Regions from separate parts of the Homo sapiens genome. Here all the other regions are linked to region 1. Evidence: promoter capture Hi-C in 16 types of primary human blood cells and fetal thymus (Javierre and others, 2016). All regions are on one chromosome and are shown on one strand. Each heading gives the region's core, a stretch centred on a gene start or on the middle of the fragment in contact. The rest is flanking DNA. Distances are from core to core; before and after follow the strand shown. Region 1 holds the start of NSD1 (nuclear receptor binding SET domain protein 1). Region 2 overlaps FAM193B (family with sequence similarity 193 member B). Region 3 overlaps B4GALT7 (beta-1,4-galactosyltransferase 7). Region 4 overlaps F12 (coagulation factor XII). Region 5 overlaps GRK6 (G protein-coupled receptor kinase 6). Region 6 overlaps EIF4E1B (eukaryotic translation initiation factor 4E family member 1B). Region 7 holds the start of PDLIM7 (PDZ and LIM domain 7).

Region 1 (4,213 bases), core at 386-2,885:
TTTCAGGGTCTTGAAAGGATTCTGATCCATCAGCAGACCCATTTAAATACTCTACATTGATCATGGAGGCCAAATCCTGTAGTCTCCGCAGTGGAATGTAACAAGATGGAGAATCTTGTCCATAAGCATTTTGGGATGTTCCACTGACAGTCGATAACTGCATAGTACACCCATTAAGTGGCTCAGAAAAATTGGATTGACCATTACCGAAAGGGCTGTCCTTGTCTTCAGGGGCATCTAAATTCACTGGATTGGAAAAGGGCAGCAGACAATTTCTTCTGGGTAGTTCACAGGTCTGATCCATCCTGGGCCGGCATCAACCTGGAATCCAAAAGCACAGCAATTAATCTGAGTTAATAGGCCATCTGACTCGACTCTTTAAAATGGCAGCCACTTCAAGGCCTAGTGGCCTCTATGCCTTTCTGCTGCACTTCCATGGGCAGAAAAAGTTCCCCCGACTGGAGATGAAAAAATGGCCTCGATGAGCCTCTGAAAACTCCATTTTCCCGAAGCTGGGCCGATCCTGCTACATAGAAACAGCCCGTCTCTTTTTCCTCCTCTGTAGACTGGTGGACACTTGGGATGAACTAAAATTAAAACCCCTCTGCCCGTCAAAATTCCCAATTCTCAAACAGGACTAGTCCTCCCCCTCCCTCGCCAGGGGTCGAGCAGCTGGATCTCTCAAAAGCAAAAGGCTGCGGGGTCCGAGGGGGGCTCCTGGACCCTGCACAAAAAGGTACCCCCCCCTTCCTGGCTCGCTAGGGCGCAGCGGTCACAATAGCGCTGCACCCTGCGCCCAGCCAGCGCCGGAGCCTTTGCAGCGGCGGTGCGCAGGCCGCAGGCGAGCCGGCCGAGGCGGCTGCACCCCAGAGCTCGCCTTCCTGAATGCAGGCCTGCTGGATCCGCAGCTGCAGGGCGAAGAGGCCTGGACCCGGCAGAGGGAGAAACCGAGGCGGCCAGCGAAGCCCAGTCAGGGTAGCAGCAGCTGCTACAGCTCGAAAAACATGGCTGCTGCCGACGCCGCCGCCGCCTGCCCGGGCCGCGCTCCTTCCCGCAGCCGCGGCAGCACCTCCCAGCCGAGCCGATCGCTCTCATCAATATTCAGCAGCAAGCAAAGTTTGCTGCGGGAGGGCAGCCGGCCCCGCGCCCCGCAGCCTGCTACCTGAGGGGAGGCGGAGGCCGAGGTGTTCGCAGGCGGCCGGCGGGGCACGGGCCGCGCCGGGAGGAAGTTCGCGGCAGCCCGGCCAGCTAGGCCTGAGCCCGGCTGGTAGTGATGGAGGAGGGGGAGGGGGAGGAGGCCGGCGGCTGCAGCGCCGCCGGCCACCAACCCCGCATCGCGCCTGGCCCTCCCCCGAGCCCCTCACCTTACGGCCACCACCATCTTCCCCGCCCGGCCACCCTCCTCCCTCCCTTCTCCTCGCGCCTGCCCGCCGCCCACCCCAGCGCACTAGTTACCGTGCCCCGCGCCCCCTCCCGGGCCAGCTGGGGGGAGGGGGTGACCCTCATTACACTGGGGTGCGAGCGGAGCGGTGGGGAGAGAGCGGGGCCGCTCGCCGCACCCCCCTCCCCCCGCGTCTCTCTTCAGGGGAGAAGGCAGCGAGCGCGACCTGCCCCGGCCTATTCCGCCGCCGCCTCCTCCTCCTCACACCCCCACCGCGCGCGCCCCCGCGGCCGCGCGTGCGACCGAGCGCCTCGCGCCGGCCCGCGTGCGGCTGGGCCCCGAGTGCGCGCGCACCCCTTCCCCCACCGAGCGCGCGCGTTCCCTTCTCTCACTCTTCGGGGTTCAGGGCGGGTGAAGTCGGGCTTGTGAGAGCGCCGCCCAATCAGCGGAGCTGCCGCTGCCGCCCCCTCCCCTCCCCCTGCGCGCCCGCTCGCGGCCGGGGCCTACGGGCCGGCCCGGCTGCCCGGGCGGGGCCTGAGGCGGGCTCCCCAGGGGCCTCGCGCGCCTCCTTGGAGTGTCGGGGCCTGCGGGCGTCGTGGGTGGCATTCCGATCCCCTCACCTACCTCGGGGCACGGCGCTGGCCTCGGGCCGCACACGGCTCCCGCACCCTACGCGTCTCGAACCCCAACCCAGGCGGCACCTGGCGCGGCTGAGGCCTGTCCGATCGTCCCGCCAGCCCTGCTCGGGCCCGCGTCAGTCCCGGCCTCCATCTTAGGTTACAGCCCAGGCTCCCCATCCACTGGGCACCTGCCCTCAGCCCGCTGGGTTCGGCCCGAGGCCAAGGCAACCCCCCTCCTGCCGCAGGGCTCACCTGGGGGCTTGGGCTGGGGTCTTCGAGGCCTCAGGCCCCGAGCAGACGCGGCCGCAGGCGAACCCCCTACCCGGCCGCACCCCAAACCCACACCACCACCACCACCACCACCACAGACCAAGCTGAGCAGGAAACAAAATGGAGGCAGCAGCTCGGGTCTGCCTCCCTGAGCCAAGCCTGTGCAGCCCCAGGGCTCCCTCCTGTCTCAGGCTCGACGCCCGCGAGGCAGAGGCTGGATCGTCCCGGGTGCCGCGGGCAGCCGCCCTACAGCAGCGCAGACGGGCCGGGGACTCGGCCCTGCGGTGCCCACAGCCCCTCACCCACCACCCCTTCCCTTCCCCCTCCCCCCATCCCTCTCCCTCCCCTTGCCGGGCCGTGCGGGGTGAGCGGCTCTGGGGAGCCGGGTCGGGTTACCCGCCCCGGCACTGCTCGCCCGGCCGTGGCCTCCGCGGGGGAACGAAGCCAGGCGACCCCAGCGCTGAGCCCACCCCCGGCACCGAGCCGGGCTGCAGCCTGACAGCGCGTCCGCACCTCGGCCTGCAGCCGTGCGGCCCCCGCCCAGGGAGGCCGAGTCCCCAGCCCGGGCCCAGCCGGGACGAAGCTCCCTCACCACCCCCGAGCCCAGGGGTCCTCGCAGCCTCGGGCGGGGCGAGGGGAACGCCGGGGGAGGGGGTCCTCTAGTCCCTGCACCGCCTCCCGCGCCTAGTCAAGGTCTGGGCCTGGCACGGGGGCTCGGGCAGCGGGCGCCGGCCGGCGTGGGTATGTGCGTGCGCGCCGGGCTGGGGGCCGGGACGGGACGGGCCGCGCCTCGCACCGCGGACGCTGCAGTTCTCGGCACCCAGGCAGATGGCCCTCTCGTGCCACCGCCGCCCAGAGCGGGCCGCCTGCTCCGCAGCCCGGTTCCCCGGGGAGTGCGCGCCTCGCCCCTGAGGGCCGGGCATCTGGACCCCAGCGGAGCTGCGCCGGGACACGGGACCGCCCGGCTGGCCGGGACAAGCCCGCTGGCGCAGCCCTCGGCCTGGGGCCTCACGGCCTGCATCCTGCACCGGGCCCGCAGCACCGAATCTAGCACGACCGCGTGGCGTCCAATCCCCCAAGACAGCGGAAGGGCGGGACAGGGAGCCCAAGCTGGGCCTGAACTTGCGACTCCAGCCCCTCGGGCCCTTCCCCCAGCCCGGACTCCGTCGCCCCCTGGGCTTGATCCCCACCAAGAAGCTCACCTCAGGAGTTACCTGGTCCCTAGGGCGCTAAGCGCCTTCTCGCTGTTCAGAGAAAGCCGGATCCGGCCGCCATAAAAATTCCGCCTCCTCCAGAAAGCCTTCTGTGATTAGATTTGGAGTTAACTCCATCTCAAGCTGAGGGCACCGCCCTCGAGGGCCACGTGACTACTATTCTTCCCATGGCTTAGTAAATGTGCATAGTTATTGCCCCAGTGGACTGTTTACTCACTGCCTTCTGTTAACTTTGAGCCCACCTGGGAGAAAGGCCATTTTTGGCGTTGCCCTGTGTGACATTAGTGCTGGCCAGCTAAACTCCATCCTTCCCCTGCCTTCAGCCAGCGACTGGCCCAGCAGGCGTGGAGCTCGAGATGCTCTTACCCTTTTGCTCTCCAAGGCCCACAGTCCAGTGATGGAGGCTCCCAAGTCAACAGGCCCTTAGCACATGTCTGCAAGTGCCGGATGCAGACCCTGCCAAGACAGCAAGTGGGCTTTGTTAGAGGGAAAGTGCCCACTGGAACGGGACTGATGAGAGGGCTGTGACCTCAGGGAGGCTCCTTCTGTTGAAGAGTCTGAGGTACCCTGAAGATTCTCAGGTGCAAAGTCAGGTTGGTAGTTGTCTATGTGTTGGGACCAACCAGAGAAAAGTCGAGTCTATACCTACAAGGGCCAGCTCTTTGTTCTGCTAGGGTCACTCACCCTGCTAATCCCATCTGGGCAATTCGACTCAACAGGCAAGCTCT
Region 2 (3,885 bases), core at 111-2,610, 420 kb before region 1:
AGCAGCTAGTACATAGAAGCGCCTCACCTAAGAGAGGGGGCAGGAGCTGTGCCAGGTGGCCATACAAAGCCTGAGTGTTCTGGCCTGTTAGCTCTGCTAGCTGTCTTTCATCTCTCTTGGACCACTGAGTTTGTAATCCAGTGTACACTCAATAAGCCCCCAGGAGACTTGCTAGGATGTAAGCCAGCAGTTGGTGAGGAGAGGTGAACTCATCCTACCCTTCCCCACCTCTTGTTCCCTCCACATTGTCCTCTGGGACTTTGCCCAGTCTAGTTTAAAGGGACTCTAGAGATCCGATTCTTCCACTGTTCCCTCAAGAAATTGGAGCAGATGATTAGTCAGTATCTTTAATAAAAGCATCTCATTATGTTTAATTCACTCAGCAGATACCAAAACCACCTCTGTGCCAGGACCTTTATTTGGGGTGCACAGATGGATAAGATAGTTCCTATCTTTGGGGACCTCCCCCTTAGAATCAGTGCCTACCCAGCCTGCACTACTTCCATTGTCAGTAGGAGGAAATGATACTGAGGGGATCCTTGCCACCTCTGGTTCTTCTTTGTAAGCCAGTAGAGACTCACTATATAAAAATGTCAAAAGACCTTTGAAAATGAAGACTTACCCACTTAGGATTTTAATTTTTTTTTTTAATTTAGAGATAGGATCTTGCTATGTTGCCCAGGCTATCCTCAAACTCCTGGACTCAAGTGATACTTCTCCTTAAGCCTCCCAAATAGCTGGGACTACATGTGCATGCCACTACACCCAGCTGAGTTTTAAATTTTTAATTTTTGATATCAGATGGATGATCCTAACACCTTTACTTACCTCATCTAGAATTTTTTAGAGCAGGGTCTATGTTTTAATTTATTTGGGGGGAAATATATTGTGTGTGGACCTTATATACTCAATACATGGCTGTTAAAAATTATAATAAGTAAGGATTCTACCACTTTGTTCTTGTCTGCCCCCACAACTGGGCCAGGCTGGCAGTTATTCATTTAGGCCAGCCATTCGCATGCTGTGATGCCCAGTTTTATTTCACATGGCATTTATTGTGCAGACACTAACCGATCCCAGCTCTGTGCCAGGCCTGGGCTAGCTGCGCATGCAGAAGTGAATCAGACATAGTCCCTTCCCACAAGGGGCTCATAGTCTAGAGAACGTGTGTATAGTAATTGCAGTAATGCTAGAAGGAGATATAGCATCGGCTTCCTCTGAATAAAGGTTCAAATCCTGGACCCTATTAAGTGGCCTTTGCAAGTGTTTCAGCCTCTTGGTTTGTTTTCTCATGTATAAAATGACAATCCAGGCTGGGCGCGGTGGCTCATGCCTGTAATCCCAGCACTTTGGGAGGCCGAGGCGGGAGGATCACGAGGTCAGGAGATCGAGACCATCCTGGCTAACACGGTGAAACCCTGTCTCTACTAAAAATACAAAAAAATTAGCCGGGCATGGTGGCGGGCACCTATAGTCCCAGCTACTTTGGAGGCTGAGGCAGGAGAATGGCGTGAACCTGGGAGGTGGAGCTTGCAGTGAGCCAAGATCGCGCCACTGCACTCCAGCCTGGGCGACAGAGCGAGACTCCTTTCTCAAAAAAAAAAAAAAAAAAAAAAGAAAAGACAATCCAGTCTTACATGGTTAATGTTAGGGTCCAACAAGTGCGGTATGCTTAACACAAGTGGTAGCTCTGAGTATTGTAGATATTTGGTGTCAGGGTTGCCCAAGACATAACCTAGAGGAAGATGGGTCAGAGAATGCTTCTCAGAGCTGAGTCTTCAAGGTTGTGTAGAAGTTCTCCAGAGGACAAGGTGGTAGAAAGGAGTCTAAACAAAGGAAGGAACTTGTACAAAGACCCAGGGCGAGCACCACTCATTTGGAGAGTCGGGAGAGATCCGGCTGAAGGGGCTAGCAGGGTTCTTGAAAACCACACCAAGAGGTTTAGGCTTTATCCTGTAGGTGGTGAAGAATCAATGAAAGGTTTTAAGCAGGAAAGAGAACGTGATGTGCTTCAATACATTCTCTGATAGCATGTGAGGAAGTAATTCTCAGTGGGAGAGACAGCTGTGATTGCTTGATTCCACCTCTCCCTTGCCCCAAGCTAATAATCATCAGATCCCCTGTGCTTTGCTGGACCCTATCCCAGACTTACAGAGTCAGTCTCCAGGTCTGGATCCCAGGTATCTATTGTTGAATTGTTCCCAAGTGACTCTGACATGTGACTGGGTCTGGGAGCTGCTGAATTGAGGGTGCCAGGGGGATCTTTGAGGAGACCTAGGGTATTCTTCAAACAGTGGGTTTCCCAGGGAGGAGCTTTTCCATAAACAAGAACAGAAACAACCTTAGTTTAAAACAGAACAAAAAACCTTCCCCCAGTTCTGATCTATTAATGATATTTGCCAACTTCCATTGTGTATAATCTTCCATTGTGTATCCAAACACTTACCTGTGCCTACTCTGTGCTACAGCTTCTGCTGAATGACTGCAATACAGTGACTTGTGGGACACAGGCTCTGCCCTTGAAAAGCTCACAGTATTGTGGAAAGGACAGATTTCAACCACTAGAATATATATGATAAGCTCTATTCTAGAGATACGTTTTTAAACAAAAGAGTGTTAGGATATCCTAGAGCAAAGCCAAGTTCATTCTTCCTGTGGACTTAAGAGGATGTAACACCCAGATCGAGCCTAAAAAAAAGAGAAGAAAAAGGCAGAAGGAACAGCATATGGGAAGGTGTGACTACTTTATGTATTTGGTCCTTCTTGGCAGGATGTGCAGAAGCAGAGAAGGACTGAGGAGAGGCATGCTATGTCTTGGGAAGGGCCCTGTGTGTGTGCCTTCGGTTCTGTGCCTGTGAGCCTGCCTTCATCCTTCAGACTCTGGGTGGCTCCCAGCACAGCAGCTGCATGGTTGTGCAGCCTGTGGGCCAACATGCTGCAGTCCATCTCCCCTTCATTCTCCACCAAAGGCCCTTAGCTCCCTTTATTATTTCCCCCTCCATGCTTAGGATGCTTAGCACAAGTGGTAGCTACGAGTAGATCTATCTACTGTGAAAAATGATGTAGGGAAACTAAAGCAGAAAGAAGGGGCTGGTGGAACTGCAAACACTGAAGGTTTTATTAGGAAGTTATAGCCAGAAAACAAGGAGCTGGGGGTTCAAAGAGGCCTTGAAGTCACTTGTCTAGTCCTTCTGTCCTTTGCTTCAAGAAATAAATTTGGGGCCGGGCGCGGTGGCTCACGCCTGTAATCCCAGCACTTTGGGAGGCCGAGACGGGAGGATCACGAGGTCAGGAGATCGAGACCATCCTGGCTAACACGGTGAAACCCCGTCTCTACTAAAAAATACAAAAATTAGCCGGGCATGGTGGCGCGTGCCTGTAGTCCCAGCTACACAGGAGGCTGAGGCAGGAGAATGGCGTGAACCCGGGAGGCGGAGCTTGCAGTGAGTCGAGATCGCGCCACTGCACTCCAGCCTGGGCGACAGAGCGAAACTCCGTCTCAAAAAAAAAAAAAAAAGAAATAAATTTGGTTTGGGCAAGTCTCACTTAGTAAGTTTCCCTGTCATTTCTTCCAGGGCAGAAGAGGAAAGAAACTAACGGGTATTGAGCACCTACTTTGTGCCAGGCCCAGGCCAGGTACTTTACATAATTTATTTCCTTCTGTCCTCACAACTCTGTAAAATATGGTTTTATTCCCATTTCATAAATGAGGAAATTGAGGCTCAAAGAAATTGAGTAATATTCCAAGATCATATTGAAAATGGCAACTGGGATTTGAACTCACAACTGTGTGTCTCGTCCCCAAAATTCATGCTCTTCCTCCTCCATGAGTAACGTGTGCTGGGGTTAGAGTAGCAGAGTGGCAGTTTGACCTGAGGATTCAGG
Region 3 (4,057 bases), core at 366-2,865, 470 kb before region 1:
GCTTTTGGGCTTGAGCAATGAGAGCAAAGAGCTTCCATTCCCATGGAGAAGAGGACAGAGCTACAGGTTTGGGGCAGGGCAGGCCACCAGCAATTCAGCTGTGATCATGGAAGCTTGCAGTAGCTCTGAGGCCACCACGTGGAGGGACTGTGTAGATGGCTGGGCTGTTGAGCCTGGAGTTTAGGAGAGAACTCCAGGAAACAGCCTCAGGAATCATCAGAGACGTGGTTTAATGCTGGAGATGACATGAGATGCCCCAAGGAACACCTGGAGTTAAAAAAGGGGGGCTGCCGAAGCACCGAGTCCAGAGAAGCCCCGATGGTGAGAGCTCGGGGAGATGAGCAGAACCCACAGACACAGAGGCCCAGCCAGTGCAGAGGGAGGACCAGAGGGTGCTGCCCCAAGCAGGGGCATTTTACGAAAGAAGATGCTGCTGGCAGGTCCACAGGATGAGGGCCCAGCATGGCCTCTGGACCAACAGAGTGGAGGAGGTGGCTGGTGACCTCAGTGAGAGCTGCTCTGTGCCATGGTGGGTGCAGGAGTCTGAGCGGAAGGGGTTCAAGAGAGACGAGGGGAGAGAAAGGGAAGGAGGTCTGCCAGAAAGCAGAGAAGGGTGACAGCCTCGAGGGATGTGGGATCCAGGGAGTCTTTTTCCTTTGAGAGAGGAGCCACTTCAGGGTGTGTGTGCTCATGGGTATGCTCCAGGAGAGGAACGCTGATCGAGAGGGAGAGGAAGGGCCCAACTGTGGGGTGGGGGGAAATACTGAAGGATGGGGATGGTGGGAGTCAGCCCGGACAGAAGCTGGAACAGCCTTGAGTCCCTGTGCACAGAGGCTGGCAGGTGAGTTGTGGAGGGAACTGGGGAAAGTTCTCTTCCATTTCATTCTGTTTTCTGAAATTGGAAGCAAAGTCGTCAGCTATGAGTGAGGACGAGGGATGAATGAGGAGAACAGATAGTTTTAAAGGCTGCAGTGGACAGACCAGAGGAAAGTGAGGCTCCCAGCAGGGCAGAGGGCCTTCCTGGCAGGGGCATCATCGGCATGGGGACAGCAGCATGGCCGCCTCACGTGTTGTCTTTCCTCTCCATACCCTCCAGTGCCCAGGCACAGGTGTGGAGCAGAGAGCTGGAGTAAATCAGGCTGGGATTACGCCAGCAGCAAGGGACCAGAGGCTTGAGGGAGTATGCCAGGGAGGGTTTTAATGATGGACCTTGGACTCCAGGTTGGGTAAGGAGGAAGTAAAGACAAGAAGGGTGGCAGGGAAAAGGGGGGGGTCTGGGGATCTGGATCAAGGGGACTTGAAAAGGTGGGAAGATCAGGCTGGTGGGGCTGAGAATCCATCTTCCAGTGGGAGTTACCTAGAGGGAAAGGAGGTGGGGGCTGGTGGGTGAGATCTCAGGCTGTGGTCATGGAAGGGAGCACTTTTTGGTAAGGGCAGGGATTTTAGGATAACGCCAGACTGTGGGCAACTTTAAAGCCGTGGCCTTGACCCTCCCTTTCCCTAATCCCCGGGCCAATCCCCAGGGAGTCCTGTCTGGGCTTCCTCCACAGCACCTCTCTCTACCCACCCCCCACCAGGCCATCAAGCCACTGTCACCGCAGACCACAGCAGTGACCACCTAACTGCTCTCCCTGCTTCTCCTCTTGCCCTGGTATAATCCATTCCACATACGGCAGCCACAGTGAGCTTTTCAAAATGGAAATTAGATCAGGGCCCTCTCCAAAGGTTCCTGTCACACCCAGTGAGAGGGGTCTGCCACCTCCCGCCCTCCTGCCCCTGCCCCAGGTGGCCTCTCACAGGGCCTGAGAAGCCTGAGCCCGGGCAGGGGTGCCGAGGGGAGAGGGTGGGGGCGGGCGCTACCTGAAGTGGTCCACCTGGTTGAGCACGTAGATGTGGTGCCGGATCTTCTTCCTGCTCAGGAAGCGGCGCATGTGGGGCACGAAGACCAGGAGCTCCTCGAAGCGTTCGCGGAAGGGCACCAGCACTGCCAGGCGGTGGGGGCCCCAGGATGCGTCTTCTTCCCAGTGCTCAGGGGGCGGCTCTGGGGGGCAGGCACGGGGAGGGCCCGAGGTCTCCTGCCCTTGTCCCCTGACTGCCCGGGCCACGTCCCCAGAGCAGCTGAGCTGCAGCCAGAGTAGGGAGAAGAAGCCCAGCGAGAGGCAGGCCACGAACAGGTGGAAGACGGAACACTTCCGAGGGAGGCCGCCGGAGAGCAACCCGGACCTGGAGCAAGCGCGGGACAGGGTCAGGAGGGCGGGGCAGGGCTGGCCCTGTGACAGACCCGTTCTCTGGCCTCCCCACGAGGAGGCTGCACATAACTCGTCTACCCCAAGCACCTGGGAATTAGTACAGAAGCAACTTTAATGTTTCTGCTCATGCCACTACCATGCATCCGAATCCTGCTTGCCTCTCTAGACCCAACCCATGCCACCCGCTCTCGGGAAGCCCTCTGAACCACTCCCAGTTCACAGAGCTGCCCCGGCTCCTCAATGCTCTCTTACTTTCTGTGACTGAGTCCTGGTCAGAGCTGCTCAGGGCAAGGATGAGGAGGCTCCTGTCACTTGCAGGTGCTCCTCCCCACGATAGTGGCTCAATGTCCTGAGCCAATGACAGGAGTCCCCACCTTAGAGATGCAACCCACTGCTTTCCAAACCCGCTCCCCTACAGATCCACCCCAGCAGAAACCGTGGCTCCATCCTGCTTCCAAGAATGACCAGAAAGGCCACCCAGACACGGGTGTGTGCTGGCATTAGTCCAGGTAAAATGACCAATGTTTACTCTGGGAAGATCAGACGTGCCCCCCGAAGCAATGCAAGGCCCAAACTGTCAGTGGCGGTTCACTGAACGAGCCTCAAACCTTTAGTCCAAGAGGCAGCTCATGATAAAAGATGGGAGATGGAGAGGGAAAGAAAGATGAGGGCTGGGTACAGCACAGGCACTGATTTCAGAAACTGGAAAAACAGCTGAACATCACAGACACTGGGGTGATGCCAGGAGACAGCCTTTTGGTTAGCAAATACAAAGAAACAGAATTCACCAGATTCCTTTGCCGCTCCTCTGGAAGTTCCTGAGTATGCTGAGACAGGAGCTGAGGAATCCATGAAGGGAGAAGCTTCCTCTGTACTCCCCCTACCTTCTCCCCAAAGTAATCTGCAAAGGAATCCACTTCACAATCTTAAGAGTCAGCGATTAGCTATCAGGTCTTATAAATTCTATCTCCTGGCCAGGCGTGGTGGCTCACGCCTGTAATCCCAGCACTTTGGGAGGCCGAGGCAGGTGCATCACGAGGTCAGGAGCTCAAGACCAGCCTGGCAAATATGGTAACACCCCATCTCTACTAAAAATACAAAAATTAGCTGGGTGTGGTGGTACGCGCCTATAGTCCCAGCTACTTGGGAGGCTGAGGCAGAAGCATAGCTTGAATCTGGGAGGCGGAGGTTGCAGTGAGCTGAGATCACGCCACTGCACTCCAGCCTGGGCAACAGAGCGAGACTCCATCTCATAAATAAATAAATAAATAAATAAATTCTATCTCCTAAGTCCCCCTCTGATCCTTCCTCACTCATCTGTTCCTTGCCCTGCTCAGACCCCTTCAGTCTTCTGAATGACCCTCCTCTGTTTGCCAGACAAAGGCCAAGCCCTTTGGCCTGACAGTCAAAGCCCTCCATGACCTGGCCCCAACTCCAGGTGCTCCCAAGCCTTCGCCCCATGTTCTCATGTTGGGCACCTCGGAGCTTCTCCACTTGCTATATTCCTTCCTGCTCCAGCCCTCACACAGCCTGCTCCTTCTGCCTGAAATGTCCTTCTTTATCTGCCTGAGGACCCCTGTTGATCCTTCAGAGCCGAACTCCAATGTCATGGCCAGCACTGCCCCCTGCCCCCATAATGCTCCCACTTTTGTATTCCCACGGCATCTTCCCACTTTTTTGTAATGCCTTGTGTCCTTGCTTCTCAGGCCGTGTCAGATTCTTATCTGTGGCCCCAGCACAGCAAGCACAGGCCAGACAGCAGAGAGCTTGCCAAGTGAGTTACAGAAAGGGGTAAGGCAGTCAGGGCA
Region 4 (4,043 bases), core at 864-3,363, 270 kb before region 1:
CCCTTCTGTGAAACCAGGTTGATAACAGTAAACCTCTTAGGGTTGTTGAGAAGGGAAACCCATGTGAGGTATTCAGCCCATCACCTGGTGCATGGAAATGCTTTACAAATATTAGCTTTTATTATGAAACTACCTTTTAGATGAAGGGTACCTGCCATTTCCCCCTTCCTCAAGCTCTGCCATAGCTCCCCATTGCTTTCATTCTTCCAGACACTAAATTACCTACATGCCAGGCATGGTGGCTCATGCCTGTAATCCCAGCACTTTGGGAGGCCAAGGTCGGTGGATCATGAGGTCAGGAGTTCGAGACCAGCCTGGCCAACATGGTGAAATGCTGTCTCTACTAAAAGTACAAAAATTAGCCAGGCATGGTGGCATGCGCCAGTAGTCCCAGCTACTCGGGAGGCTGAGGCAGAAGAATTGCTTGAACCTGGGAGGTGAAGGTTGCAGTGAACGAAGATCACACCATTGCACTCCAGCTTGGGCAACACAGCAAGACTCCGTCTCAAAAAAAAAAAAAAAATTTACCTAGAGTGTGGCACATAGCAGGGCCTGTGAACCAGATGGACCTTACCCTGGTGGGCCTGACTTGGTGGGGTTGAGTCTCTAAGCATGGCGTTGAGGCCCAGCACATTCCAACCCTGGACTCCCTCAGCCTCCTCTCTTCACCCCACACCCAAAAGTTTCTCCTCTCTCTTGCCTTACCCAAACTTGGTGCCCTATCCTTGCCTAATCCCCTGCCTAAGGTCCCCCTCCTCTCTGTCCGTCCATCCCATCTGCATCTTTTTTTTTTTTTGAGATGGAGTCTCGCTCTGTCCCCTAGGCTAGAGTGCAATGGCGCGATCTTGGCTCATTGCAACCTCCGCCTCCTGGGTTCAAGCGATTCTCTGCCTCAGCCTCCCGAGTTGCTGGGATTACAGGCACACAACTTCATGCTCAGCTAATTTTTGTATTTTTTAGTAGAGACAGGGTTTCACCATGTTGGCCAGGCTGGTCTCGAACTCCTGCCCTCAGGTGGTCCGCCCACCTTAGCCTCCCAAAGTGCTGGGATTACAGGCGTGAGCCACCGCGCCTGGCCCCCATTTGCATCTTAAAGGTCCATCTCAGATCCATTTCCATTTACTGTCCTAGTTCTGGTTTGGTCCTTGGCAAGTGCACTTTGCCTTGAACAAAATAGTGGCAAAAGCTTATTGAGCAGGTACTTTGTGCCAGACACTGCTCAGCATTTCATGGCATTATCTCATGAAGCCCCACGACAATTCCTCTGAAGAAGACACAGGCAATTCTCATTATTCGCGATGGTTATGTTCTATAAAATCACAGTGAACATTGAACTAGCAAACAGTATTAGGTTCCTGTGAGCCTCTGGTCACAACATTTTCATCAACCAACAGCATATAATCTGGTTTTATGTATGATTCTGTTTAAAGACATTTTATTTAGTATATGTGTTGCTGATTCATCAATGCTAAGCTGATGGCACTATAGCACACACCTGAATCAAGTGTCTAACACACGCTTTCTCCCTAAGGTAGCCTTCTTGTGCTTAGGAACTACACAGCTCTTCAGCAGGAGGCTCAGAGGCCATTTCCAAAAGCCAAATCCCCAGCAAAAGCACAAAGTGTGAAAAACGTTGCACTAAGTAGACTGAGAAGGACACTCATTCAATAGGAGAGCTGAAACAAGCAGCAGCAGCGTGACGCCTTGTTGAACCTTAACTGGGAATGTGCAAATTTTTCACTGCTCTGTGCATGCCCACAAATGGCCATGAAAACATTTCAAGTATTGACTTGGGAGTTACAAATAAAATTCAGCAAGTAGGCACATTCTCAATGTAGAACCAGAGAAGAATGAGGATCAACTGTACTATTATTACTGCCGTTTTACAGATAAGGAAACCAAGGCTCAGATCAGAGTGGTTAACAGTGACTTCAACATTCAACAAGTATTATTAAGTGCCTACTTTGTGGCAAGTGCTCTTCCTGGCCTTGGGACTGAAGACTTACCCAAGGTCACACAGCTAGCAGGTTGTGGAGTCAGGAGTCTACTCCAGCTATCTGACTCCTGAACCCAAGTTTTTTTTTTTTTCTTTAAGATGGAGTCTCACTCTGTCACCCAGGCTGGAGTGCAGTGGCGCGATCTCGGCTCACTGCAAGCTCCGCCTCCCGGGTTCACACCATTCTCCTGCCTCGGCCTCCCGAGTAGCTGGGACTACAGGCACCTGCCACCACCCCCAGCTAATTTTTTTGTATTTTTAGTAGAGAGGGGGTTTCACTGTATTAGCCAGGATGGTCTTGATCTCCTGACCTCGTGATCTGCCCGCCTTGGCCTCCCAAAGTGCTGGGATTACAGGCTTGAGCCACCGCGCCCGGCCCTGAACCCAACTTTTAGAGCAGAAAGTGTTTTCAATGCACAGCGACCTTTTTGAGGGTCTGTCCTTTTCCTGACCAGACCCTGAGGGACAGTGCCTGAGCAGTTGAGTACAGGGGAAGTCCTCAGAGAGTGTGTTGTCCCTGCAGTTCTCACTGTCACCGGGGAGCCCTGCCACTTCCCCTTCCAGTACCACCGGCAGCTGTACCACAAATGTACCCACAAGGGCCGGCCAGGCCCTCAGCCCTGGTAAGACTACGCAGAGGAGTTGGAGCAGGGGCCTGGGAGACATGTACCCTGCCTGTCCTTCTGTCCAAGGAACTCTGCTTGGAGAGAGGGGACTGTGATAGGGCAGGGTGGGCCAGGCCCCTGGGTAGAGCAGGGAAGCCTTGTCTCTTTCTACAGGTGTGCTACCACCCCCAACTTTGATCAGGACCAGCGATGGGGATACTGTTTGGAGCCCAAGAAAGTGAAAGGTGCTACACACAGCCTCTGGGGTGGCCTGGGGCTCTCTCCTCCCGCCTCATTACTCTCCTGGTATCACCAGACCCCACACACCTGGGATTCTGGACCCAGCCCCTTCTCTCCCTCCACAATACCCTTTGGAAGTCCAGAGGGAGAGTTCTGGGAAGGAGTGGTCCCATTTTGCAGGTGGGTAAACCAAGCTTGGAAACTTGGAGTAGCAAGGTCACAAGGCAAGTAGGTTCAAGAAGGGCCTTGGCCCCCAGCTGTGTGACTCAGCTCCCTGCTCTTCCTTCCACCATGTCCATCTCTCAGACCACTGCAGCAAACACAGCCCCTGCCAGAAAGGAGGGACCTGTGTGAACATGCCAAGCGGCCCCCACTGTCTCTGTCCACAACACCTCACTGGAAACCACTGCCAGAAAGGTGAGGAGATGTGGAGGACCTGGGCGGGGTGCTGGGGGACAGGGGCAACCCTGGGCCTACAGAATAGGTTGCTGGATACTCGGAGACTTGGCATGGTCCTAGACTCTCCTGAGACCACTATCCCTCTTTGTCCCCAGAGAAGTGCTTTGAGCCTCAGCTTCTCCGGTTTTTCCACAAGAATGAGATATGGTATAGAACTGAGCAAGCAGCTGTGGCCAGATGCCAGTGCAAGGGTCCTGATGCCCACTGCCAGCGGCTGGCCAGCCAGGGTGAGCAGATGGTTGGGAACGGGCCAGGGAGGAGCGTCAGGAAGACAGGCTGGCAGGAGGCCGGGTGGTGTGCCAGGAAGGAGAGCTCTCTGGGGGGGTCTTTAGGCCCAGGGGTGGCTCACTGCGTTCCCTCCCCAAGCCTGCCGCACCAACCCGTGCCTCCATGGGGGTCGCTGCCTAGAGGTGGAGGGCCACCGCCTGTGCCACTGCCCGGTGGGCTACACCGGAGCCTTCTGCGACGTGGGTGAGTGAGGGTCTGGGGCAAGCAGAAGGCCAGCCCCCAGGTGGGACGGGCTTGCCAGGAAGGAGGAGGGAGAGTGCGGAAAGCAGATGAGAGGGAGGCAGGAGAGCCCAGCCTTGGCTGCCCAGGGAGCCCCCTTTCTCCTCAGACACCAAGGCAAGCTGCTATGATGGCCGCGGGCTCAGCTACCGCGGCCTGGCCAGGACCACGCTCTCGGGTGCGCCCTGTCAGCCGTGGGCCTCGGAGGCCACCTACCGGAACGTGACTGCCGAGCA
Region 5 (3,905 bases), core at 1,264-3,763, 310 kb before region 1:
TCCAGGCTGGAGCCCAGGCCACACCGGTCGTGCACGCTGGATGCACAGCCAGGCAGCTGAGGTCGAGAACCCGGACGCGCACACAGCTCAGCTCGGAGAGCACACACATGTCCAGGTCCCCGTCACATCCTGACAGGCGCTGCGCACACGCAGTGGGCAGGGGCCCCCGAGCAGGCAGGCACCCCAACGTGGCTCCCTCCCAACTCACGACCCCTCTCGCTAGGTGCCCAGCAGGCGTACACCACCACATGCCTACTAGGAAGCCACGGGGAGGAGGACCTAGTGCCGAACCCACAGCCCTGGCCTCCGTGGACATGCCTCCCCCCTACCCCAGCAGGGAACAGATGACCCCTAGAGAGCGCCCCACTGTCTACCCCGAGGTCCAAGCTTGCAGAGGCCACTCTGAAGTTGGCTGTCCATCGGCCTCTTAACTGGGCTGTTTTTCGTCCAACTTCTCTACTGCACTTAAGATGATTTGCCAAAAACCCCTCCACCACCATATTAGCTGGAACATTTGGGGTTGAAGTGACAGAACTCCCAAACAAATAGGTTTGAGCTGTACCCCGTCTCTACCAAAAAAAAAAAAAAATCTGCACGCCTGTGGAGAATCGCTTGAATCCGGGAGGCAGAGGTTGCAGTGAGCCGAGATCACGCCACCGCACTCCAGCCTAAGGGAGGGGGTGAGACCCTGTCTCAAAAAAAAAAAGAGAAAGAAGAAAGAGAAAGGACAGAAAGAAAGAAAAATAAAAGAGAAAGAAAGAAGAAAGGAAAGAAAGAAAAGAAAGAAAAAGAGAAAGAAAAGAAAAAGCTTTGAGCTCAAAGGGGACTGGTTCATGCAACTGGCAAGTCCCAGGGTAGATTCTAGCTTTGGTCACAGTTGCTTCCAGGTGTTCCCGCAATGGTGTCAGGCACGTATCTGCTTCTGTTTGCATCACTCTCAGGCAAGCTCACCCCAAGAAGTAGCGAGGACAACCCCAACAGCCCTAGGCTCATATCCTGCCATCTATCCCTGGAGGAAAACGGAACCCCAATTCCTTCCCCATCATTTGAGCAAAATACAAGCAAACAACTCCATGAATGATTCTTTTTGGACTCATTTGGGCTGAGTCTCTATCAGTGAACCAATCTAAGTGCCTGTGTGTTAAGGGAGAGGATATGTGCTCCTTATGCAAAGGGAATGGCCTCCCAGTACCCGCTCCCTTTTCTTTGTATACAGGCACCCTGATTTCAATGGGGGAATCACTGCCCCACGGGTGCCATCCTGGTGAAACTGTGAACCCAAGTGCCCTGCTCCCTGACAGTGCACAGCAGGCAGGTATCCAGCCTGGCCACTCAGACTCCTTGAGTTTGCAACTGGGCTCAAAGAGGCAAAACCAAATGGCTCTATCATCTTGGTTCTGGTGGGTGTCTCCTGATGAGAATGGAGCCCACAACTAAGACCCCGAAGCTCCTCCATATCCTTGGAACACCTTCTAAGTTAGCGGGAGGACAGTTCTGTCACTTGCAACATTCCCACCTGGCTCTCTCACTCTAGGTATGTGTGTGGAGTATGCGTGTGCAGGGGGTGCAAGCCCAGCCCCGTCTAAACCACATGGACAGAGACTGGGGGTGCTTTTGTACATGCTGGAGCAAACACCCCAACACAACCAGTAAAAACCCTTCAGGGAATCCCCTACCTTCCAGATGAGGCCCCATCTGGGCCTTAACCCTGTGATCCTTAATCTAGCTTTCAAAGCTGGCTGTGTCTCACTGACTTCAGCTCCAGCCATTCCTTGCTTCCACCCCTGGCCTCCCATGCTCAGCCATCCTAAACCACTAAAGCCCTAGACCATCCATCTGGCTCCTCTACTTGGGTACATCTGACCCTGTGTCCTGGAGGGCACCAATTCTGACACCTTCAGGGTCAAGGGGCCTCCCTGTTTGGTGCTGCCCCACCCCCAACCCTGTCAGCTCTAGAATCCTCTCTTCCACAGTGCTGATCACACTGGGTCCCGCTGTTCCCACGTCTGCCTCCCTACCAGACTGAGCTCCAAGCTGCCAGGGGCCTCGTCTCCATCTGGGTCCCAGTTCCCACCATAGAGCTGGGCATGGAGGACAGCTCAGGGAAGCTTCTTGGGAAATGAATTCTGGGAGTTCCCTCTGCCAAGGACCCACTGTGTTAAGAGCTTTAAGGTGAGTTTAACCCTAGCCAAGAAGTTCCCTGGATGCCTCCCTAGCCCAAGGGGGAGCTGGCCAGGGTGTCCTGATCCAGGTGCAGGCAGAGTGCCTCAGGGTCCTGCACATCCACCTGGCACGCGCTCTCTTGCATACCTGCCCAGGGCTGGGCTTTGGTATGACATGCTAACACCTACCTAAAAATCCCCCACTCCCACCTCATAACAGCCTGGGGCAGAGGGGCAAACCCACCCCAGGCTCCTTTCTCATGATACATGGGTAGGATCCAGCTTTCCCATCATTACCTGGTTTCCTCCCCACCCTGCAATGGCCACTTAACCAGTTGGAAGACCTTGAGCAGGTCCCCACTCCCCTTACTTCCCTTAGGTTGGTGGGAAGCAGCAGGCACTCCACATGTCATGAGTGGGGCCACAAAAGGCCCCTTCTGCCAGGCTGCTGGCTTGGCACCTTCTGGCTGTGCTTAAGCCAGGTGGTTAGTTTGGTACTCAGCACCACTCCCCAGCAGGTGGGAGTCCTGCGGTGGCTTGGGAACTCAAGGGGCTGGCTGGCTGCTTTGGTGGATTCTCACAGCTGCCCAGAAAGGTGATGGGTCTTACACCTACCTTTCCATATCAGGGAAGCGCCTGTGCAGGGCCAACTTGAAAAGTGGCCAGGCTGGGGCTTGAACCTGGAACTGTCAGCTACAAAGCTCACATGGCTCCTGCAGCACTGGGTGCCCAGTCCAGAGGCCAGGAACAAGCTTGATGGGGCTTACGGGGCATTCTCAGGGAGCTGGGGACACTGGGAGTCTATAGAGCAGTGATGGGGTTGCCAGATCTGGGACAGACTGGTAGGCAACAAGCTCTCAGCCCCAGAGCCCAGGCAGGAAGCTCCCCTTGAGTGCCTCCCAGTCCCCCTTCCTCCCAGGTGAATGTCCACTTCGAGGCCGGCTCAACCACCGTCTTCAGAGAACTCTCCCACACTGGCCACAGCCTATCTGCCAGCGTCACCCACTGTCTAGGTCTTTGCCCATAATGTGTCAAGGGCAAAACAGAGGGGTGGATATGATGCACGTGCCTCAGCCCGGGGCCCGTACATGGCTGGCGTCCAGGTAACGCAGGCCTGGGGCAGACATTCCTTACACAGCTCCCACCCTACTCTTACGTCCACATTTAGGCAGCCAGGCCACCTTAGCCTTGGAGGGGAGGACACCAACGGGGCCCGCCTTACCAGCAGTCAGAAACAGACCCACATCCCAGTGGGTACCCAAGGCTTCTTTCCTTAGGCCCCATCCCATTTAGGAAGTTGGGAAACCCACTGGGTGAGCCCAAAGGCTACCAAAGCCTGGCTGTCTGGAGAGGCTAGTTCAGAGTCAGCCCTGGGGGCTCCTGGGCCTCGGAAGGGCACACCCTGCTTCCCTCCAGGCCCACCTCCAATCCCTTCCCGCTTCCAGCTGGGCCAGGGGAGCAGGAAGACCCCTGGAGCACCGGAAGCAAGAAAGAGGCAGGCAGGGGCGGCTAGCCAGGTTTGTGCTCGGACTATTCACACAGAGACATGTGGCAGCTTACGTTGGACAAAACGAGTAATAAAAATTGGCTTTAAATATGGAAAAAACAGGGCCCTGTAATCCCATGCTACCCTAACACTGGGACCAGGATGGCCATCACAGTCTGGGAAGGGCCAGGGCTGGGACCTGGGGCACAGGCACAGCCTCGCCCTATCCCCTTCACCCACACAGGTACACACGCGCG
Region 6 (4,270 bases), core at 1,766-4,265, 490 kb after region 1:
CTGAGCCCCGCCTCTGGACCTGGCTCCGCTTCCCGAGCTCCGCCCCCACAGCCTGATTCGGACCTCCTCGCAGCCCCGCCTTCGGCCAGGCCCCGCCCCCGCGCAGGCCGCCGCCGCGTTTCCCAGCGTCCTGCAGACCCGCCCGGGACGCCGGCTGATGGCGCCGGAGGCCGCCGGGGTGTAGAAGCCTTGCTTCCCCTGCTGGGTACCAGCGCCATCCCAATCCCCAGCCTGCTGTTGGAGCCCATCCCAGGGGAAGGTTAACTGCTGCTCTGGCAGGCGAATGGGGAAGCTGGTCCGGATTGAGTTTTTAACACGTGCAGGACGTTTTGTCATTGTGGAGTCGCATCAGGCTCACCTTCACCCAGCGGAAATCCAGCTCTACTTATCCTGACTCAAACTCAGGCCAAACGAGGGCCTGGGCCTTGGTGCCACGCCGGCTGCGCCCTGCCAGGGGCATATGCCCCCCGGAACCTGGCTCAAGCCCCCTTGGTGGCTGAGTTTCCCCAGCCACACCCCCTGTCCTCCATACTGGCCAGGGTCCCGGTCAGGCTCCTTGGTACCCAGTGATCTCACATGAGCCCCTGTAAGACAGGACAGAGGCAGATCAAAGTTTGGGGGAACCTGAATCTTACTCCAGTTTGAAGCCCTCTTAAAAATAATTCCAACTTTGTTCAGAAGTATTTATTTAAAACAGGAACAGAAAGATGCTTAAGCTTTTATTATCAAGTTTATCCACTTCCACCACTTCTACCAGAACCTTGGTGAGGCCTAGCCCAGCATCCCTCCACCTCCACTTCAGTCTGGCCCTGAGGCAGGCAAGGCCCAGACAGCCCTGGTCACAGCTGGGGAGAAGGGGAGCGGCCTTGCAAGGCTCTCTCAGTCCTCAGCAACCCACGTATCCCTCTGTACAAATGATGGCGTTCACCCTCCAGAATGTCTGTGCCCTTGAGCCCACCACCCATGGAAGAGTCTGTCTCTCAGGCCACCTCACCTCCTTCCTGGGTGGAAACAGTAAACGCTGGACTATGGGTTTCTCCGCCTACCATAGAGCCCTCCTTCCCCGCCATGACTCACCCCACCCTCAGGAGTTTTTTCCACCCTGCTGCTGTCCTGTGGCCCCAGGACAAGCTAGGTCCTCAGACTGCCACCACTACCCCCATCTAGCCCCTAAGGCTCAGGCCCCAACTCATGTTAAAGAGTGTTTGCATTCCTGTTCACTTGAGGACAGGTAAGAACTAGGCTGTCTGATCCCCAGTCCCGCCCCATCCCCCAAAGTAATGAGGCTCAGTGGCGGCTGTCCCATTACATAGGAGGGGTGCCAAGGCCCCCCTCACACCACAAACTTGTTCTTGGCTAGGGAGTTGCTCTTGGTGGCTGTGTCTGCATGGGCCTGGTACCCAATGATGGTCTTTGGGGAGAGGCCCAGGCGCTCTTTGTATACACGCCTGCAGGTGCGGGGGACACAGAGGAAAAGAGACACAGGTAGTCATCAGAGGGTCCTAGAGATAACTTAGGCCACCAGACTCCTACCCTCATTCTGGCCACAGCCACACCTGTTGTGTCTTACCCATGTGGAAACCCAAAATATGACCCCCTTAATGCAAAAGGAGAGCTGCACTGCCGTAAGAGAAAGTTAGAAATCTGAACGCCAGACCTTCCATACAGGTGGGCAAGGCAGAAGGGAGGGAGGCTATGGAGACTTTCAGAGGTCTCCCATGCAGGCCAAGCCCCCTCCACCCACCTTCCCTCTAGCAGAGACCCAAGTCCCCACCCTGTGCCAGAGACCCTCCTCACCCAACGTGCAGCACGCCCGCCTGGTTTTCCGCCTCCCTCGTCCACACAGCGATCTTGTCCCCCTTGGTGCGGATGTTGACGACGGCCCCACATACCTCTCTGCTGTGTTCCTCAAAGCTCTCCCCGATCAGACACAGCAGCTGGACCCGAAGTAGGGGGTTGTGAGATCACCGGCTGGGACATAGGGACTGGCCTGCCATCCTTGAGACCACTGCCACCATGAGACCCACACAGCCCGTCTCTTCCCCTGAGGACCCTCCTCCTCCAACTCACCGTCTCCAGCCACAGCCGGTCCAGCTCAATGTGGCGCTGCTGCTTGGCCAGGCTGACCAGCCAGCGGCCACCCCGTTTATTCCTGCTGTCCTCCCACATGGGCTGGATGCCATCCTGCAAGGCAGATGGCAAGTCAACTGCCTCCCTGTGTTCAAAGGGAAATGGGGACCCACCCACCATCCCGGCCTTATCCGCTCTCTGCTGAGGCCCTAAGTAGGCCAGATTCTCTTATCCTCCCTTCCCTCAGTGCAAGCAGGTTCCACCCCCAGCCACTCAGCTCCCCCCGACAGACAGCACTGGTCACCTTGTATAGCCTTGTATATGTGCATGTCTCTTTTACTGAGTTCCTTAAGACAAGCATTCAAATCGGGGTGGATTAAGGAAGCCTCAGGGGCAGACCCCAATGCAGGCAAGGGGGACATCCCAGGCTTGGCTGCATGGTTCCCAGGCAGGGCAGAAGTCACTGGGGAGATCTCTAAACACAATGTCAGCCCTCCAGGGATGGGTGTGGCATCAATGAGTGTCCTCAAGCAATTCTGATGCCCTTCCCTAGTTAAGGAGCCAGGTCAGAAATCTCTCCCTCTCCCTCTTCCCGCCTCTTAAGGTCCTCCAAGGTGCGGCTTGGGCCTGACCTACTCTGTCCGGGCTCCTGTAGAGCATTTCCTCCAGTCAGAAACCACAACTCTGCTGAGAGGTGGCCCGTAGCTCCCCACCCCCACCCCTCTGAGGGATTAACGCAGTGGAGTCCGGGAGGGATCAACCCCTTGTCCCTTTGCGGGAGGGAAAGAGGAGAGCAGAGCTTACCTTGAAGAGGGCGTAGTCACAGCCAGAGGAGAGCTTGCTGGCCAGCTGGATGTGACTGTATAGCCTGGACAGAGCCCCCGACCCCATGCCAAAAGTCAAGGCTTTTTAGGGCCTGGTTCCAACTGGGTTCAGCCCTCCCAACTCCTCATCCGACCCCATGGCCTCCAAGCCTTTGCTTACACTGGCCTGCCACCTGGGATTCCACTCCCGTTTATCCAAACTCTCAAGACCCACCTTTTCCACAGAGCCTTCCCAGTGAAGGCTGAGCCAACCCCTGGGGAGGGTTTTAGACCCCCTGGTGCTCCCCCCTCCAGCTACAGCCGAGGCCTTCTCACCCTCCCTAGGGCTTGTGTAGCCCTTTTCAGAGCCACTCCCGTGAGCACCCGGACACTGAGGCAGCCGAGTCCTCCCTTTGCAGCTGAGACAGGTTCAGAGAGGGGAAGGAACTTGCCCAGGTCACAAAGCCCTGGAGTGGCCGAGTCAAGGTCAGCTTCCTGCTTCTCCTGCTCCCCAGGCTCTCTCCCTGAGCCCAAAGAAGGTGGTGGGGTGGGGGGTGGTTGTGCCCTATACCCCCTGGGCAGAACCCACAAAGCCCCAGCCCTCACAAAGGCTGAAAGGCCCTAGGGAGGGCTGGCTCAACCCGGAGAGAGGGAGCCCAGAGCTCAGAGCCCCCCAACTCTAGCCCCACTGGGGACAGACACTCACGCCCAGAAGTCCTCCACAGTGTCCACCTTGGTGACCAGGTGCAGGTTGTCCTGCCAGGCCCGGCTGCGGTCATTCTTGAAGAACCACAGAGCCCACCTGGTAGGGGAAGGGGGAGGCAGCCAGGAGGAAGCAGAGAGCCAAGTCCACCCCCGGGGCACCTGGACTGACAGGGAGGACCCTCCCCTTCAAGGGCGAACTGGGAGATGAGATTTGGGGCACAGCATTCCCCTCTCAGGTGAATGAAATCAGTTGTCCTGAAGGGCAGGGGAGGAGTGGGGGTGTTTGACCCACAGTCTCTGCGGGGTTAGGGCTGGAAGGGCCAACAGGGCCCAAGGCTTAGGTCAGCCCTGGCCTCCCACGGATGAAGAGCTAGGGCCAAGAGAGGCGGGGTTGCCCAAGGCCACGCTGCCAGCACAGAGGCTGGCCTGAAAGCAAGGGGCTGTGTTCCACTCGCAGGCTCCTGCCTACCTGTTCTGCAAGGGGTGCAGCTCCAGCTTGACTTCCATGGGGCCCCCCGTCCGGGCCTTCCCTCTCAGAGACAGCAAAGTCCTGGGAGAGTTTGGAGACTTTTCTCCTGTGGGCGTCCTCTCTGCTGCCTCCTCCTCCTTCTCCTCCTCCTCCCACTCTCGGATTCCACCCTCAGCTTCACTCACCTGAGCCAAAAAAAGGAGTCAGGATGGGTTGTGAGCTC
Region 7 (4,327 bases), core at 380-2,879, 360 kb before region 1:
GGGTTACAGGCGTGAACCACTGCACCCGGCCCATTTATCATTAGATTCTCATAAGGAATGAGCAACCTAGATCCCTCGCATGCACAGTTCACAATAGGGTTCACGCTCCTATGGGAGTCTAATGCTGCCGCTGCACTCAGCTTCTCTGGCTTGCCGCTGCTCACCTTCTGCTGTGCAGCCCAGTTCCTAACAGGCCACAAACGGGGAGTTGGGGACCCCTGATCTAGTAAACATCTAGGCAGGGTTTTGGATAATGGAGTTAGAGTTCCTGGGGAGAGGTCAGGCTGGCCATGAAACATGGGATGCCTTTGCATATAGGTGGTGTTGAAAGCCACAGGACAGTACGGGGTCTCAGGGGGTGAGCATAAAGAGAGGCGACATCAGATGGCCAAGGCCAGAGGCAGAGGAGGATGGGAAGGAGGGGCCAGTGGGGCAGGGGGAAGCTGTGAAGCCAGGGAAAAAGGGTGTTTCGCGGAAAAGGATCAACCTGGACCAGTGCTGCCCCTAGGCAGGGCAGGATGAAACTTAACCACCACGGATTCCATGGCCCCATGGCCTCCAGGCCACAGGGGACCTTGAGAAGAGAGATCTCAGGGGACGGGTGCGGACAAGAGCCCGCCTGGCATGGCTTCAAGAGATAACTGAAGGAAAGCAAGTGGAGACGCGATAAACAGACAACTCCCTGGAGGAATTTTACTCTCGAGAGGAGAATTAAAGGGTAGTAGCTGGAGAGGGATGTGGGGTCAAGAGAAGGTCTTTAACGACGAGAACTCTCACGGCGGTTTGTGCAGAACAGGGTGGGTGTGATGACTGTGGATGGAGAGGGGAGAACTGCAGCGACTCTGTCCTAGGAGGAGGTGATGGGCCGGGACCACCAAGCGAGTGGAGGGTGGACGCCCCTTCCCTCACCCCGACACCCGCATGTGCTCAGTGTCCGTGCCGCCGGCCCTAGTGCCTGGGCTGAACGCGGGGCCGGGACTCTGAGGACGCCTCCCAGGCGGCGCAGTCCGCTCTGGCCAAGGTGGAGCGGGACGCGGCGCTTCCGACGGTGCGCGGGTCGGCTCGGGGTTGCAGGGACATCCGGCGTCCGCTCCTGCCCTGTTTTCCTGCCTTCGGCAGAGCGTTGCGCAACTCTAGCTTTAAACGCCCCTGTCCCCCTCAACTTGTCTCCCCCAGCCCCTCTGATTTACAGATTCTGCAGTCCCCGAGGGTTGCGCCTACGATACCGACACTCGCGGCAGCCCTGCGAGGCGAGTATGATCGTCCCATTTTTCGGAGTAGCAAACTAAGGTTCAGAGACTACTATGTCCCAGGTCGGTCTGGTTTGAAGGTCCGCTTTCCTCTCCCTCCGCCAGCGGGCGGTGCGAGGGACTGGGCGAGGCAGCGCTTCCCTAAGGAGGCGACCCGCAGCCCCGGCCCCCTCCCGACTCCGCCCCGTTGCAGGGCCCGGGTCGGCGAGGCCTCTCAGCTCTAAGCCCGACGGGACTTGGTGATTGGGCAGGACGGAAGAGCTGGGTGGGGCTTTCCACCAGCGGAGAAAGTCTAGTGGGCGTGGTCGCGACGAGGGCGTGGCCTGGTGCCCCGCCCCCGTCCGCGCGCTCAAAGTGGAGGGTGGCTGTGGGGGCGGGGTCAGAACACTGGCGGCCGATCCCAACGAGGCTCCCTGGAGCCCGACGCAGAGCAGCGCCCTGGCCGGGCCAAGCAGGTATCGACGACCGCGCGGGGCGTCTTGGGCTGCACCAGGCGGGCGCCCGGGGCCTGCTGAGGACCACAAAGGGCACTGGGGGTCGTGGTCCAGGCTGTGCTTCCTCCCGCTGGCCCTGGCCCCTGCCTCCGCCCCCGCCCCCGCCTTCCTGCCGCTAAGCCGGCTGCGGCGGGGCCGATTGGCGCCTGCGCCGCTTCCTGCGGCCGGGGCCAGTCTAATGCATGGGGCCCGGGCGGGGGACTAAGGGGAAACTGAGTCACGTCGGTGTGGGAGCAGTTCTGTGTGGGAGGCACCACCCCCCACTGGGCTCGGGGAAGGATCCCCCTCCAAGCTATGCTTGAGGGTCCCAGCCCCCATCTGTCTCCACAGGGGCCGCACCCCACTCCCGCCTTCCCCTTCTTCAGCACCCAGGGGTCCCGCCCTGGCTCCCAGCAGCCTCGACTGGTCCCGGAATGGCTAGGAGGATCCGCTGCAGCCGCCTCCCTCCCCTCCCCTCCCCTCCCCTCCCCTCCCCCCCCCCTCGCGTCCCAAGCCCCCGTGTGCTCCCTCCGCTGGCTCTCCGCACAGTGTCAGCTTACACGCCTTATATAGTCCGAGCAGGCTCCAGCCGCGGCCTGCCTGCCGGGACCTGGGGGCGGGGGAGAGGAGAGCCGGCCCCTGACTCACCCGGCCGCCCGAGGCTCCAGGCTGGCTTGGGGGGAGGCCGCGCCAGTTTAGTCCCTCGGCCCACCCCTGGTTGCAAAGAACCTCAAGCCTGGATTCAGGCACCCCTCACCGTTCCAGTCCCAAGGGGAGGGGGGCTGCTCCTGTCTTTCCAAAGTGAGGTCCGCCAGCCAGCAGCCCAGGCCAGCCTGACAAAATACCTGCCTCCTATGGCTTGGGCGTGCTCAGGGGCTGCCCGTGCCTGCCTGGCCCCTGTCCAAGGCTGGTATCCTGAGCTGGCCCGGCCTGCCTGCCTGCCCGCCCACCATGCTGGCCACTCACCTTCTCTTCTCTCCTCTCAGGAGCCGGCATCATGGATTCCTTCAAAGTAGTGCTGGAGGGGCCAGCACCTTGGGGCTTCCGGCTGCAAGGGGGCAAGGACTTCAATGTGCCCCTCTCCATTTCCCGGGTGAGCCTAGGTTTGGGGAGGGGGCTCCCCCAGCGGTCTTTCGGTGCTTAGGTCTCCAGAGGGTGATGGGGGGAGTCCTAACAGGAGCTGGTCAGGGGCCAGCAGGCCAGGAGATGTCTAGGTCCGGAGATGTAGTGGTACCTGCCTGCCACAAGGACTCCCAATGAGGTGGATACTGGGAGGGAGCACCCAGGCTTCTCCAGCCCTGCACTGTACCCGATGCTGTTCTCCCAAGCTCCTGTGGCCACCTCTGAGGGCTGGAGGGAGGCTCATTGTGCAGGATGGGAGCCTAACATTTCAGGAGGTATCTAAACTTGAGGTGGCAATGCTTGGAGCCAGGCCCCAGGCAGGACACTGTGACTATAGGATTTCACTTCAGCCTCACTGCCGCCCAGGGAATAGCAATCCTCATCCCGTTTTTCCAGATGAGAGAAGAACTCATGGAGAGGTGGCGGGGCTCGCTCATCGAGTCCATGGTGAAGCAGGGATTGGAATTGAGGCACAGCATGGCGTACATTTTTTGTGGGTAGAAGGGGTCTCTCCCCAGCCTATGTAAGGACCCACATCCACTGTTCCCATTCAGGATGTGGTGGCCTTTGACCCCAAGCAGAAGTGTAGGACAGGGCTCCATTCTAGGGGCTTAACTTCAGCTTCCAAGAGCCTGCCCTGGTGTGGGTGGAGCTGGAGGCTGGCTCCTCCCTGTAGCAGGGGGATTGCCTTATAAGCCCAAGAATGCAGCCCCACGCTGGGATGGCCAACAGTGGCTGCGGTCTGCAGAGCTGAAAAGGGCTGGCCTAGGCCTGGCCCCCTGAACCCCACTGGTGGGCCTCTCAGCTGGTCACCAGGCTGCAGCTCCAGCTATATGGTCCAGTTGTGAGACACAACAAATTGCCTGCCCAGAGTGGGTGAGGCCAGCCTGTCGGCTGGCATCTCTGACTGGCCTGGGGGTCAGGAGGGGGTGGGGACTTCCTGCCCCTATATCCGCCTGCCCCAAGAGACCCACCCAGGCGCCGGGTGGGCAGGCAGCTGTTGTCAGGAAGCCCAAGGCAAGCCCAGCCTGGAGGGGCCCAGAGGGTCGTGGCCTGAGGAGGGGCTCAAGCTGGAGTCTGTCTGTAGGAGCTGGGCGTGGGGGTTAGGGTGGGCAGGCCAGCAGTGCTCTTCTCAGGGGTCCTTTGATGGCATTCTCCTGGAACCTGCCCCGCCAGCAGGGTAGTGAGGCAGTGGTTGCCCTATGACACACGTCCCACTACATAGCCCTCACACAGCCCTGAAACCTACCTGACGTCCTGCTCCCTGGGAAAGTGCTGGCCCAGTGTGTCTGGGGAGCCTGAACCTCAGTTTCTTCCCTGATGGAGATGACTTTCAGATATGGCCTGTTGGGGGCACTCCGGGCTCCAGCTCCCTGGTCAGCATCCCTGGCATGTGGGCGGGGCCACTAGCTGATCCCAGCCCTGGAGTTGGACCTGGGCCCACATGGGTGGGTGAGGTGGGCTTTTCTGAGTTAGGCCAGC

Evidence for each region. The method cuts DNA at HindIII sites, captures the fragments that hold promoters and counts their contacts. A CHiCAGO score of 5 or more calls a contact.
Region 2: a contact is called between a fragment that was not itself captured here and the fragment with the promoter of NSD1 in region 1, in 1 of 17 cell types (monocytes). The highest score is 5.6, in monocytes.
Region 3: a contact is called between a fragment that was not itself captured here and the fragment with the promoter of NSD1 in region 1, in 1 of 17 cell types (neutrophils). The highest score is 5.7, in neutrophils.
Region 4: a contact is called between a fragment that was not itself captured here and the fragment with the promoter of NSD1 in region 1, in 1 of 17 cell types (endothelial precursors). The highest score is 7.5, in endothelial precursors.
Region 5: a contact is called between a fragment that was not itself captured here and the fragment with the promoter of NSD1 in region 1, in 1 of 17 cell types (endothelial precursors). The highest score is 5.2, in endothelial precursors.
Region 6: a fragment that was not itself captured here is called in contact with the fragment with the promoter of NSD1 in region 1 in 1 of 17 cell types (total B cells); the score reaches 5.0 in total B cells.
Region 7: a contact is called between the fragment with the promoter of PDLIM7 here and the fragment with the promoter of NSD1 in region 1, in 4 of 17 cell types (neutrophils, erythroblasts, M0 macrophages and 1 more). The highest score is 8.5, in neutrophils.

Annotation. Positions count from the first base shown.
Region 1 is chr5:177,131,195-177,135,407 of GRCh38, reverse strand. NSD1 (nuclear receptor binding SET domain protein 1) reads right to left here and starts at 1,635. Exons shown (of 23, transcript NM_022455.5): 1 at 1,456-1,635; 2 at 1-321. The coding sequence starts at 304. RefSeq lists enhancers at 433-986, 987-1,538, 1,539-2,092, 2,306-2,600, 2,093-2,644 and 1 more and silencers at 1,000-1,299, 1,360-1,519, 1,600-2,269. The HindIII fragment of the contact is 6,719 bases long and covers 1-4,213 here.
Region 2 is chr5:177,546,919-177,550,803 of GRCh38, reverse strand. All of the region lies in intron 1 of FAM193B (family with sequence similarity 193 member B), which reads left to right. Among named protein-coding and RNA genes, the nearest start is that of FAM193B, 5.7 kb to the left of the region's middle. The HindIII fragment of the contact is 5,989 bases long and covers 1-3,885 here.
Region 3 is chr5:177,602,345-177,606,401 of GRCh38, reverse strand. B4GALT7 (beta-1,4-galactosyltransferase 7) reads right to left here. Exons shown (of 6, transcript NM_007255.3): 2 at 1,861-2,223. Among named protein-coding and RNA genes, the nearest start is that of B4GALT7, 4.2 kb to the right of the region's middle. The HindIII fragment of the contact is 2,999 bases long and covers 116-3,114 here.
Region 4 is chr5:177,404,538-177,408,580 of GRCh38, reverse strand. F12 (coagulation factor XII) reads left to right here. Exons shown (of 14, transcript NM_000505.4): 3 at 2,520-2,619; 4 at 2,776-2,846; 5 at 3,148-3,258; 6 at 3,396-3,527; 7 at 3,667-3,771; 8 at 3,917-4,043. Among named protein-coding and RNA genes, the nearest start is that of F12, 3.0 kb to the left of the region's middle. RefSeq lists a silencer at 3,945-4,043 and an enhancer at 4,040-4,043. The HindIII fragment of the contact is 1,849 bases long and covers 1,189-3,037 here.
Region 5 is chr5:177,442,663-177,446,567 of GRCh38, reverse strand. It overlaps GRK6 (G protein-coupled receptor kinase 6), which reads right to left. Exons shown (of 16, transcript NM_001004106.3): 16 at 3,677-3,905. All of the region lies in intron 1 of PRR7-AS1 (PRR7 antisense RNA 1), which reads left to right. It also overlaps a transcript of PRR7 not described here. Among named protein-coding and RNA genes, the nearest start is that of PRR7, 2.2 kb to the left of the region's middle. RefSeq lists a silencer at 1-129. The HindIII fragment of the contact is 806 bases long and covers 2,111-2,916 here.
Region 6 is chr5:176,643,044-176,647,313 of GRCh38, reverse strand. It overlaps EIF4E1B (eukaryotic translation initiation factor 4E family member 1B), which reads right to left. Exons shown (of 9, transcript NM_001099408.2): 4 at 4,048-4,232; 5 at 3,580-3,675; 6 at 2,875-2,938; 7 at 2,071-2,184; 8 at 1,798-1,937; 9 at 670-1,448. The coding sequence ends at 1,334. Among named protein-coding and RNA genes, the nearest start is that of TSPAN17, 2.3 kb to the left of the region's middle. RefSeq lists a silencer at 1-258 and enhancers at 932-1,226, 1,497-2,007, 2,589-3,228, 3,229-3,870. The HindIII fragment of the contact is 4,593 bases long and covers 719-4,270 here.
Region 7 is chr5:177,494,906-177,499,232 of GRCh38, reverse strand. It overlaps PDLIM7 (PDZ and LIM domain 7), which reads left to right and starts at 1,629. Exons shown (of 13, transcript NM_005451.5): 1 at 1,629-1,705; 2 at 2,710-2,816. The coding sequence starts at 2,721. RefSeq lists enhancers at 16-755, 974-1,023, 2,236-2,977 and silencers at 1,234-1,943, 2,354-2,433, 4,131-4,327. The HindIII fragment of the contact is 22,050 bases long and covers 1-4,327 here.